Regions from separate parts of the Homo sapiens genome. Here region 1 is linked to region 2. The links are contacts of gene promoters, found by promoter capture Hi-C in blood cells and fetal thymus (Javierre and others, 2016). All regions are on one chromosome and are shown on one strand. The core of a region is centred on a gene start or on the middle of the fragment in contact, and the rest is flanking DNA. Distances in the headings are between cores, read along the strand shown.

The links. Contacts are between HindIII fragments. The CHiCAGO score rates a contact against its expected background, and 5 or more counts as called.
Region 1: a contact is called between a fragment that was not itself captured here and the fragment with the promoter of PGGT1B in region 2, in 3 of 17 cell types (M0 macrophages, M2 macrophages and naive B cells). The highest score is 6.8, in M0 macrophages.

The regions. Positions count from the first base shown.
Region 1 is chr5:115,091,345-115,098,291 of GRCh38, reverse strand. No RefSeq gene overlaps it. Among named protein-coding and RNA genes, the nearest start is that of TRIM36, 75 kb to the left of the region's middle. RefSeq lists an enhancer at 6,767-6,947. The HindIII fragment of the contact is 3,062 bases long and covers 4,050-6,947 here.
Region 2 is chr5:115,257,856-115,264,172 of GRCh38, reverse strand. It overlaps PGGT1B (protein geranylgeranyltransferase type I subunit beta), which reads left to right and starts at 1,296. Exons shown (of 9, transcript NM_005023.4): 1 at 1,296-1,461. The coding sequence starts at 1,322. RefSeq lists enhancers at 1,178-1,227, 1,258-1,437. The HindIII fragment of the contact is 10,345 bases long and covers 1-3,053 here.

The DNA.
Region 1 (6,947 bases), core at 4,331-6,830, 170 kb after region 2:
TGCCCCCTAGTGCTGAAATGTAGCCCAACCAGGAGCACCCCCACAAAGCACAGCTGAATATGGTTATGCAAAAGTCTCAAATTATTCATCTGATTTGACTTATTTGTGGATGCTCAAAAGAATTAACATATTAGACAGTGTTAGGCAATCTGCAGCTAACAATAACTCTTGCCCGTTTGAGTACCAGTTGGAAAACTTCCAGGGACTGTGATCTTATGTAAGTATAAGGTAGAGGTGATGACACTTTTAGAAGTAGCAGCTCATTTTGGTGAAGAGTTTTGGTTCATGAAGATTTTCTTTCACATTTGTGGTAAGTGGTTAATAATTTTACTGTTTGAATCTTGCCAATAGGATTTACAGCCAGTTGTCTTTCATGAAAGATAAGCTTGTTATACTTTTTATATAACTTGTATTAAGTATTGCTAGTATTAAATTCTGTATACAACGTCAGGATATTGAATTCAGTTTTTTAAATTTGGCCAACATGTGAGTTTGTCTTAGGTATCAGGCAAATGGCTTATTTGGGTTTTGTTGTCAGGGAGAGAAAGTTAAAATGGCTTCTTCATCTCACAACCTGTGTTGGTCAGGGGCCAACCAGGAGACAAAAACCACACAGTAATTTGAAAAGGAAAAGCTAAAGTATTAACTATGACCAAGGATTCGAATAACAGGGAATTGGCTGGTAAGAAGTAAAGAGAATGTTAAAGAATACAGAAATAGCAGTTACAGGGAATAGCCACTGTCCCTGGCACTGACAGAGAGCACCAACAAAGGTGCAAATTTCAAAAAAACATCCCCAAACCCCACCACCTCTACCGCCTGTCAGGTCTCCTGGCTGAGATCCAGACCTCAATGGAGAGGGTATGGGTGTGGCCATGGTGCTAAGATGCCAGGATGGTGACACTCCTTAGAAATGCTAAGGGAGGCTGGGTGCTGTGTCTCATGCCTGTAATCCCAGCACTTTCTGAGGCCAAGGTGGGTGGACCACTTGAGGTCAGGAGTTCAAGACTAGCCTGGCCAAAATGGCAAAACCTTGTCTCTACTAAAAGTACAAAAATTAGGCCGGGCACAGTGGCTCATGCCTGTAATCCCAGCACTTTGGGAGGCCAAGACAGGTGGATCATGAGGTCAGGAGTTCGAGACCAGCCTGACCAACATGGTGAAACCCCGTCTCTACTAAAAAAATACAAAAATTAGCCAGGCATGGTGGCGTGCGCCTGTAATCACAGCTATTCAGGAGTCTGAGGCAGGAGAATCGCTCAAACCTGTGGGGCAGAAGTTGCAGTGAGCTGAGATCGTGCCACTACGCTCCAGCCTGGGCGACAGAGCAAGACTCTGTCTCAAAAAAAAAAAAAAAAAAAAAAGAACTGAAAGTACAAAAATTAGCTGAGCATGTTGGCAGGCGCCTGTGATTCCAGCTACTCAGGAGGCCGAGGCAGGAGAGTTGCTTGAACCCGGGAGGTGGAGGTTGCAGTGAGCTGAAATTGTGCCACTTCACTCCAGCCTAAGTGACAGAGCGAGGCTCCATCTCAAAAAAAAAAAGAGAAGATTAAAAAAAAAAGAAAAAAAAGAAATGCTAAGGGAGCTGTTCAGAGGGAGGTATTATGCCTTAGGGCCAAAGTGGGTGTCAGAGAAAGCTGCCTACAGGGAACTGCTATAGACTGTGTGCTGCCAGTTGCCTGCTGCCACATGCTGTACGAGCCAAGAGTGGTGGAAGCTGCGTGCTTCAGAAGCCTACTGAGAGGAGCACACCAGAATCTGAAAAGCCATGCTTTTCCCTCCTCCTGTGTTCCTTCCATGTGCTCTACTGACAAAGCTTAACAATGTGCCAGCTGGCAAAAGGAAGATACAGGTTCTTTCTCTTTTATTATGGAGCAGGCAATGAAGAATGGATTTGAACCCCAGTCAATAAATGAATAACTGTACAGGATATTTTAAATATTTTTCAGTATTGGAAACATGCCTTTTTTTTTTTTTTTTTTTTTTTTTTTGAGACAGGGGCTTGCTCTGTTGCCGAGGCTAGAGTGCAGTGGCGTGATCATGACTCATTGCAGCCTCGATCTCCTAGGCTCAAGCCATTCTTCCGCTTAAGCCTCCTGAGTAGCTGGGGCTGCAGGGATGCACCACCAAGCCCAGCTAATTTTTATAGTTTTTGCAGAGATGGGGTTGTGCCATTTTTCCCAGGCTATTCTTTTCTAATGCAAGCACTTAACGCTATAAATTTCTCTAAGCACTGCTTTAGCTACATCCCACACATTTTAACATGTTGAGTTTGATTTTCACTCAGTTAAAAATGTTTTCTAATTTTCCTTGTAATTTCTTTTTACCCATGTGCTACTTAGAAGTGATTTCCTTAATTACCAACTACTTGAAGATTTTCCAGTATCTTTCTTTTATTGTTTCTAGTTTATTTCTGTTGTGATAAGAGAATAGACTCTATATGACTTTACTCTTATGTATACTGAGACTTGTTTTATCATGCTGAATATGATTTATCTTGATGAATGTTTCATGTTCATTTAAAAAGAATGTTGCTGGGTGAAGTGTACTACAAATTTCAACTAGGTCAGGTTAGTTGATGGTGTTCACATCCTTATATCCTTGCTGAGTTTTTATCTACTTATTCTGTGAATTACTGAGAGGGGAGCATTGAAATCTTCAAGTTATGATTTGGATTAGCTTATTTTTCCTTCCAATATTCTCAGCACTATGCAACCTCAGAAAATGCAAGTTCTGATTCAGGAGGTTTAGGGTAGATTCTAATAGTCTGCATTTCCAACAAGCTCCTTGGTAATGCTGTGCTGTTGCTGATTCCCTTATTACATTTTGAGTAGCAACATTCAAATCTACTACTTTACAATTTCCTTGATGAGAAGAACTGCTTGGTTATTAAAATACAAATTATTGGGCCTCATTGCAGGCAGGCCAAATCAGCATTTCCAGGGAAGGGCCCTGGAAAGCTGGATGTCCGATCAATATCTGTCAATTTATATCAGGTAAGTTTTGGGTGGGTGGGAAAATTGAGCGCGTAGGGGGATAACTATCAGCTTAGTTCTTACAAGTTTAGTTATTTTCTTGATCATTCAGCTACCAGCTTTCCTTTGGCACAGAAATATTCTCGGTTAAGCACACATTTTCTTTGTTTGCTTTGGATATTCTAAAATTCGTCTATTTTTCTGTGATGTATTTGTGTAGACCATGAAGGTAGGTAGGCAAGGCCAAACTTAACTTAGGTTTAGTCTGCCCATCTGAAATTTGGAGTCCAAACAATTCTCCTTTTGCTCTAATAGTGTATGTAATTGTGACACGAGTCAGAGAAATCCAAATGCCCACACCAGCAGTTGTCAAAGTACAGTCCTTAGAGGCTGGTTGGGCTACTGGGGAAACCAGGATGCATGAGGCCCAATCGACTTTAAAACTGCTTTTGTCTCTGGCAAATAATGAGTGTCCCTGTAAGATTTTAATTGAATAGGCTCTTCTACTAAAACCAGATACCAACAAAAATAACAATAGGTATAACTTTTAAGACCTGTGCCCTAGCTGATTAAAATACAATTTCTGATGAACCTCCCATTCTCTCTCATGTCCACACAAGATTAGAATGTAAGGCAGGCACCAGGAGAAACTCTTGAGATACAGGTTCTTTGGTGATGCTCAGTGGCATTTGGTCTATTTTCCAAGCTCCCGACTCCCTTACTATAAATCATGGAAAACTCCACAGATGTGAAAACCAAAGATCTCATATTCCAGAACAACTGATAATAACTATTCTATATGAAAGTGACCATGAGTCATATAATATACCCTGTTAAACACAAAATAAATGTATCCCCAACTCAACTTGCCCTTAGCCAGATTCCAAAATTGTCCTTGGCAACACCAGTGCCTTTTAACAGAAGGGAAGTCAAAGTGAAAAGACAAATTTAATAGAAGTCTTAGTTTTACCTTTGTAAATTTTACAAAAACATATGAACATGTGAATATCTTGCTAGTGCCCTTTCTGGAAATTTTGATGCTCCTGTGTAAGTGAGGGGCCTTGAAATTAAGCTTCATTAGCCTTATGGTAAATCCAGCTCTGGCCACTAATTCACCAAAATGTTTCCAGGTGCAGGTTGCCAATTCCAGTGGTCACATCTTGGTCCTCCTTTTACTCCAACTCTATCAGCATTGGGTTATGACCTTCTTATGGAAACACCTTTTCTGTTGATTTCCACAGCTTCTTCCTATTCTCCTGGGTTTTTCCTATTTCATAGGCTGTTCCTTCTCTGTCTACTCTGTGTGCCTCAGGGCTCAGTATTTGGGCCAAGAGAGAGTGAGCATTTGCACTCACTCTCTCATGATCTCATCTAGCCCTATTATTGTACCTATTGGTTATAAAAATATACCTTTCAAATTTATACCTCTGTCCTGGACGTCTCCCAAGGCTTGAGACGTGTAATTTATCTGCCCACTCACTACCCCACTTGGATGTCTAATGGGAATCTCAAAGTAATTGTGTTCAAAATGAAACCCAATTCCAAAATTATCTTCCCATTTTAGCAAATGCTTCCATTCAGTAGGTCAGTCTACAGCCTAGGACTCACCTCTTGATTTCTCTTTGCCTCTCATGTCACATAGGTCCATGAACAAGTGCATCAGTACTACCTTCAGAAAGTCTGAGTCCGACCATTTCCCCACTTTCCAACACAGCTGCTCTCATTCTAGACCATCACTATTTCTTGCCTGAACTCTTGTAATGGCTTCCATTCTGGTTCCGTGCTTCTACCCTTGTCCCATTATAACTTTTCTTCATCCTCTGCTCAGAATCTTCCAGTGCTTCCAGTCACATTTAGAACATAATTCAAAGTCTTATCAGGACTTGGAAGGCTGCCATACTGCGGTCCCCAGGCCAGCAGGATCAGTATCACTTGGGAACTTGTTAGAAATGCAAATTCGCAGGCCCCACCTATTGAGGCAGAAACTCTAGGGGTAGCCAGCAAAATGAGTTTTCACACACAGGGTATGCTAGTGAGACTGAGACCGGCTAAAATTTGAGAAACACAGTCCTATTACCTGTCCCATAGCTGGTTCTCTGACCTCCTCTCCTACCAGTCTTCCTCACTCATGGATATCCTGACTCACTGGCCTGGCTGTTCCTGGAACAAGTCAGATGAACTCCTCAGAGCTTTTGCACTTACGGTGCCTCAGCCTAAACTCTTCCCTCAGCCCTGTGGATGGCTGACTCCTTTGCTTCAGGTAGGCCTCTTGCTCAAGTGTCTTCTCCTCAGAGAGGCTTTCCCTGGCCACCCTTTCCAAAATCACACCACTTTTCCTTGTTTTTCTTCATAGCCCATGCTGCTGTTACCGGGGTGTCCTCGTTCTTAGAGCTCCCAGGATGGTGGTGGGCTGCTTCCAAGAAGGTGGTGGGCGGCTTCCAAGATGGTGGCAAGCCTCTTGTTCTCTGACCTGGGGTTCTTGGCCTCATGGATTCCAAGGAATGGAATCTTGGGCCATGCAGTGAGTGTTATAGCTCTATTCAGCTCGATTAGGACAAACCCCAGGCAGGAACAATGGGGAGCCTCTAGCCCAATTGGGTGCCGCCTCGCTGGATCAGAAGTGCAGCAGACACCCTGCCAGATCCGGAGGGGTGGAAGTCAGCAGCGGTGTCTGCAACGACAGCTATCAGCAGTGGTGGATGGTGAGGAAAAGCTCAATTCGAACGGGAATAAACACAGACCAGAGAGTGTGCAGTTGCAAGATTTAATAGAGTGAAAACAGAGCTCCCATACAGTGGGAGGGGACCCTAAGGGCGTTGACATTGCTGGCTGGAATGCCTGGGGTTGTATCCCGATCATTATCCATCCCCCTCTGCTCTCAGGTGATAGATGATTGGCTATTTATTTACCTCCTGTTTTAGCCGAATTAGCCTTTTAGTGAGCTGTCTTTACTAGCTGATTGGTCAGGTGTGAGCCAAGTTGCAAGCCCTGTGTTTCAAGGTAGATGTGGTCACCTTCCCAGCTAGGCTTAGGGATTCTTAGTTGGCCTAGGAAATCCAGCTAGTCCTGTCTCTCACTGCCAGCTGCAATGTTGTAGGTCTTCATTATCAATCTAAACTCCATGAGGTTAGGGATTTGATTTGTCCCCCTCTAGTCCATCTCCCGTGCTCAGAACACTGTCTAGCACACAGCATGAGCTCGTAAGTACCTGCTTCATGAATTACTGTACTGACACTATTTAAGTAGTGGAGGAGCCACTTTTTACTTCCCTCCCCCCTTTCCCCAGTAAAGCTCACCCAAGTATTTCTAGCTCCTTTATTCAATTGACCTTTGTAGATCTTGGCCAAGTTTAGGTGCATTTTTTTCCCCATATTTGTGAATCTGAGAGTACAGTGCAGAAGGGGAAGGGCTCTAGCTGTAGTGTCAGCAGGCTTTTCTTTTTACTTTGCTGTCTGGCTCTGCCTCAGTTGCTGACTTTGAGCATAGGTTTGAGCTCTATAAGTACCAGTTCCTACATTTGTAAAACAGGGATAATTATTCTCATACCCAAAATAGAGGTGAATTAAGGATTAAATGCATGAAAGTCACTTTCATAGTGCCTGACATTGGTAAGTGCTAAAGAAATGTTAGTTTTCTTTGGAACTTAGTGACCTTATGGCTAGGCATGGGGGCTCATGCCTGTAATCTCAGCACTTTGGGAGGCTGATGCAGGAGGATCTCTTGAGTCCAAGAGTTTGAGACAAGCCTGGGCAACATAAGGAGAGTCCCATCTCTATTAAAAAAAAAATTAGCCAGGCAAGGTGGCATGCCTGTAGTCTCAGCTTCTCATAGGGGTGAGATGGAAGAATTGCTTGAGCCTGGGAGCCTGAGGCAGCAGTGAGTGGTGATCCTGCCACTGCGCTCCAGCCTGGGCAACAGAGCTCCCTGTCTCAGGAAAAAAAAAAAAAATTTGTGATCTTGCCTTCTAAACTA
Region 2 (6,317 bases), core at 47-2,546:
GGCCATGTTTATTAGAATTAATTTTCTGAGAATGTATAGAGTGTCCATAGCTGATTCCAGTAAGTTAAATGTGTATAAGACTCCACTTTAAAAATCTTCAGGCATTTGGGGGTATGTGTGCTAAGTGAGAGATCTTAATTTTAATAACAGTGGAAACTCCAGACTGGGCACACCTGAAGGGCAAGGACTGTGAGCTCCGTATTTGTAGGGAAGTACCGAGGACAGCCTAGAATCCGTCTGTGGCTGTTAAATGCGGCATTTTGTAAAGACATGCAGGAATACCTGTGAATAAGTAGTTAATAGTACCAAAAATTATTCAGAGCACTTTGGATTGTTGAATAAGTGTAAGATTACCCCAGCCCATAGAGTATAAGAATTACATTTTCTAAGAAAGCTAACAAAATTAAACCCAAAATTTTATTAGCTAAGTTGATCACAGGGAACCTAGTTTAGTTATATTATTGGGTGGATCCCCCCACCCGCTACTCAGGAATGCCTCATGAAAGTTTAAAGGGCATAGTATACCGGCTAAACAACTTAAATCCCTATTTTTGGAAAAAAGAACTAGAAGCATGTTTAAATTTTTTAGAATGCAGGTAATTGGAGAAGATATTGAGCTTATTTTGCTGTTGCAGATTGATGCACCATTGATTCTTGATAACACGTCGACTCAAGCAAAGTAAAATCTGTAAGATTTGTAAAAGAATGACGCAAGCAGTCATATATAGGTATGAATATGCATGTTGTATATGTTTGGGGGCATTATACACAGATTTTTAAGTGATTCCTGGTATCCAGAAAGGATTAAGATTAGGAAAGTCTCTGAGCTTTTGTAGTGTCAATAAACATTTATCTCCACTGGTTTGTTTTTCTGTTTCCCTAACCGTTCGGCTTAAAACTGGCCCTCCAAAAATGAATCTGTTAGCAAGTTTATACTGATCCATCCTCGTTTTCAGATATACCATCCTCAGGTTCTACAGAGCCAGAATTGTCTCAAAGCGTACTTGATGCTTTTGACCTTGCGCTTCCCAAGATAAAAATTCTGACGGAGGGATTTGTGGACTTGATTTTCACAAGGCCTGCGAGGTGTTTACAAGCCTCGAGGGCTTTGAGTAGAAAAGGTAGGGTCATGCGCTAGCTAGGGAGATATCGGAGAGAGGAAGTGCTGCACAGGACCCAGATGATAGCGGTTTCAAATACTGGCTTAGTCTGCGGCGGGCGCAGGTCCCCTCACCCGGCACCCTGTGGTTCAGCACAGGAGGGTTCTTTCTCTCCGCGGGCACTGATTCCGGGTCGCGGCGGACGTCGCTTCCGGAGCAGCATGGCGGCCACTGAGGATGAGAGGCTAGCAGGGAGCGGTGAGGGAGAGCGGCTGGATTTCTTACGGGATCGGCACGTGCGATTTTTCCAGCGCTGCCTCCAGGTTTTGCCGGAGCGCTATTCTTCACTCGAGACAAGCAGGTAACTCGTGGCACAGTCAGCCAGGCTGGCACAAGGCCCGGGCTCCAGCGGAAAGGCGCGGCGGAGTCGGACCGCAAACTGGGCGCCGGAAGGGGGCTGCGCGGCCGCCCAGTTGGCACTGACTGGTTTCAAGTGGGCTTGAGGTTACCCCCACTCTCCCGCCGTACGGTGGGAAGGTCTGGAAGGCTGTAGGTCGAGGGCTGTGGCATCTCCAGTTTCCGGCTTTTTCACTTCCCTTTTCTTCTGGCAACTCTGAGCTGCTTTTTTACCCGCTCCCATAGCCTGTCACTTTGCCTCATTACTTCCGAGTGTAAAAGGAAAAGGACAAAGTTTGTCGTCGTATTTTTAGATGAATACTTCTGTGCATCCTTGTCCTCTCTAAAGTCATTAACTCTTAATAGAGTGTCTGTATGGTGTTTTATGTGTAGGAGCGGCAGAGAACCTCTAAGGTCTTAGAAACTTTGTGGGAACTATAAATCTAATGGTAGGCGAAAGAGGTGTGGTGTTGCGTGAAGCAGCCTGTTAAAAGTATCGCAATAGCTGAAGAGTGTGGTGCGGCAGAGACTAAGCGACTTCATTTACAGTAAAAGCTGGGGATGAGAAGAAAGAAAGGAGAAGGCAATCTTTGCTCCGCATTGCTGTGTTTTGAAGTGAAGCTCAAAAGCTGCTTGAGACTGGATGGGAGGAAAGAGCGGCTTGTTTTTGCTGTGTTCTTTCCCCACGTTTTCCAAATTCTGAGTTGCTGGTGTATTTTGAACACTGCATGACCGGATCAGTTTGGGGAGCTTTGCAGATTACTTCTGCACACTTGGTCAAGAACCACATTATGGTAGGTGCCAGAGTACAGCTGAACAAGACAAGCATTTGTATAGAGTTCTGTGCTATATGTTAGTGTAGTGTTCATAGGAGTATATAGACAGGCATGTACATAATCCAGATATCTTTAGAGAGGCCTTCCTTAAACACCCTTCCTAAAGGGACCACTTCCAATGACCACCTCACATTACGTATGTATTGGTTTATTTGTTTAATGTCTTTCTATTACACTGGATTATAAACTTCACAAAGGTAACATTTTCGTCTATCTTGTTTACCTCTATACTTAGGACTGGGCTGCCCTGTCCAATCTGGTAGCCACTAGCCACATTTGGCTATTTTGATTTGAATTAATTAAATCAAATTAAAAATTAAGTGATTCTTTTGGTAGTAGCCACCACATTTCAAGTACCCAGTTGCCATATTGGCCAGTGGCAATTGTTTCTATTTCAACATTTGCAACAGCTTAGTCCTTTTGGTCAACATTGCACTAGGACCTTAAATAGTACCTGGTATCTGAGAAGCACTAAGAAATATTTGTTGAATAATGTGAGCTGAGCCCTGAAGGATGAACAGATTCTCACAAAAGAAAGAGTGAAACGTTTATATTCCTTCCTCCTCTCATAGGTGTTGATCGATTAGCAGAGCCTATACCTTCACTGAAAGATTCAGATTTCCAAACCGAAAGGTTATGATTGTAGTGATATGAGATGTTTTAAAATGTTGATAAATTGTTTATATCTTAATAGGGATTAATTTTATGTGAATTCAAAGCTTTTAGATAAAAAGTCTTCCATCCTGTTTTTGTTATTGATACATAATGTGCATATTTATCGTATACATACACTGCTTAGATAGATGCAGTGTATAAGTCCTGTGAGCTGATTAAATTGTGATTGTTAAACAGTTGAACTTTGCTTGCAGCTATCACTATAAGTCTGTGATTTAATTTTCAAAATGCCAATGTGTTTGGCCTGTTTTATAAAATTCCAGCTTGGACAAATCCATATAGAATAATGCACATTGGCATTAAACTGTGTAATTCTGTTCACAGCATAAGTAAAACAGCACAAATTTTCTGACTTATTTAACTTTAGTATGAGCATAGGATCGACACCAGGTGTTATATAACACCTTGGTGCATTGGTTAAGCAATATTGTATCCTTTTTTGTCTAATGTTTGTCATATGAATAGAATTTTTACATCATTTTGGTTTTCTTATAGCCTAGTTAACCGCATTTAAGATAACTGCATATGTCAGTTTCTGTAGTGATTTTAAGTTTTTCTCTTTCCTAACTCACAGACTTTATTTTCTTTAGCACTAAGTTCTTTTGTGGTGCATGTGATTCATAACTGACTTTAAAATGCTTGTGAAGAAACTCCAACCTTTTCAGCAAAGGTGACCGGTCACAAAGTTTCTGCTGATCTTTAAGACAAAACAGTACATTGGGCAAGCCACAACTCTTACCTGGTATTGCAGTTAAATTCCACAGTCATTCATAGAGTGCCTCCCCATGTGTCTAGGTACAGGTATACAGTGTTAAACTAATGATTCAGGTGTTCCTCTGTTCGTTTCTTTTTACCAATAGGTATGAAAAAGCTTTGAGAAGGCTAATATTAGACTGGATATTTAGACACTTATTTTCAGATTCACCATTTTGGCAAAATTACTCTTATTTTCTTGTTTCTTTTAGCCTGACCAATAGGAATAATTTTTACTTTTCTAGTGACAATGACTTTATGAAAATAAAGAGTGTATTGTCTGCGGTTTCATCAGAGATTTTTCTTTTATATTGACTTCTTAAAATGATAGTTACTAGTTTATAATCCAAGTGAATATTAAATCTTGGGTTGGGAGCTTTATCAATTACCAGGTTTCTTTTATAAGTAGTTTAGGGAGTTTAGTGTGGTTATGAGTTATTCTTGCCATTTGTATTTGGGTAATAGGAATTAGAGTAGTCCTTTTTATTAAGGAACAAAGTAGTGACAATTTTCTGTTATTTTTACAGTCACCTCTTCTAGAAGAAGGGTTTAGGCAGTTAGCTTTTATTTCACAAAGCATTTACAATCTAGCTAGTCTTTGTATTCTCATGTCCCTCTATTTTCCCCTGTGTATCCTGTGTTGTAACCTCTCTCCTGCCTCCCATTCTGCAACTACTTTGTTCTTTCGTTTCCTCCCTTATCTTTTTTTTTTTTTTTTTTTTTTTTTGAGACAGTCTCACTCTGTCACCAGGCTGGAGTGCGGTGGCACCATCTCTCCTCACTGCAGCCTCCGCCTCCTGGGTTCAAGCGATTCTCCTGCCTCAGCCTCTCAAGTAGCTGGGACTACAGGTGTGTGCCACCACGCTCAGCTAATTTTTTGTATTTTTAGTAGAGATGCGGTTTCACCATGTTGGCCAGGATGGTCTTGGTCTCTTGGCCTTGTGATCCGCCCGCCTCGGCCTCCCAAAGTGCTGGGATTACAGGCGTGAGCCACCGTGCCCGGCCCCCTTATCTTAAATATATCACAGTCTAGCAGTACATCTTTCAAAGTGTAGTGGTGGGAGACTCTAAGTAATGGCTTGTATGTGCTTTCAAAAATGCACATACCTGGGCCCCTTCCCAGACCTTCATTGGATTCTGTGTGGGCCTTGGGAGTCTGCATTATAACACGCATCTCAGGTGGTTCTAAAGCAGGCTAAAGTTAGAGACTGTTTGCCTTATAGGAGAAACAAATATGCAGTTATTACAGCAGTGATTCCCAACTCTAATGTGTATGTGAATCACTTGGGGATCTTGTTAAAATGCAGATTCTGATTGCATAAGCCTGGGTCATTGTATTTTTAGATGAATACTCCTGTGCATCCCAGTCCTCTGTAAAGTTATTAACTCTTAATAGAGTGTCTGTATGGTGTTTTACGTGTAGGAGCAGCAGAGAACGTCTAAGGTCTTAGAAATTTACTTTATGGGAACTGTAAATCTAATGGTAGGCGAAAGAGCTGCGGTGTTGCATGAAGCAGCCTGTTAAAGTATATTGCAATAGCTGAGGAGTGTGATGCTGAGTGTGAGCCGGAGATGCTGCATTTCTGACAAGTGCCCAGATGATTTTGTTATGGCTAATCCCCTGACTAGACAAAATGATTGTGATATTCTGAGGGCATTCTGGAAGTACCTAAGTAGCTCAGCCTGAAGAGAGACAGGGACTAGAGAAGGCTTCTTGGAAGAAGTAATCCCAAAGCTAAATCTTAAAGAATGTGTTCCAGTGTTTTGTTGTTGTTGTTGTTGCAAATGGACAATAAGAAGAATAAAGCTGGAGAAGTGAGTGTTGAGCAGAAAACTTCAATTAGTTCTCTAGTAGTGGTTCAAAATGTAAAGGGATATGGTAGGAATGTAATCTGAAGAGGTAGGCATGCATCAGATCATGGAAAGCTTTGTGTGCTTGTCTAGAAACATGAGTTGGATATCATGTAAGTGACAGGAATAGTCATATATATAGTCATATATCACATGGTACAGGACCAGAACCAGGGAGACCAATGAGGACACTCATGTGGTAGTCCAGGAGAGAGATGCTGAGGCAGTGAAGTAGGGCTAGAAAAGAGGGGATGAAGAAAAAGAAGGAGTCCCAGGATTCTTGAATTGGAACTGCTATCTGGTCTGGATAATAAAAGGCAAAAGGAGCCAGTTGAGAAAGGAAGAAGATGATTCATGTAATAGCACTTAACATGTAACCTCCTTAAGGTTAGGAAGCTTTATTCATTTTTGTGGTGACATCTAGTCTGTAGTAGGTGTTCAGTAGATGTTTCTTATTGAAAAAGTATGATAGTAGAAAAACTATTTTACAAGTTAAATAATTCCACAGATATGTGACTGTACTTAAAAGTATTTACCAGTTGAATCAGCCATTGAAAAATAATTATAAATGAAGAATAATGCTTAAAATTCCAGAATTCATGCAGTCTTTCAGTCATTTGTTTCGAAGTATTATGGCAGCATCTATGTGCTAGTATTTTAACTTCATGATTAAGTCTAATGTATCATCTAAGGCTCTCTCTTCACT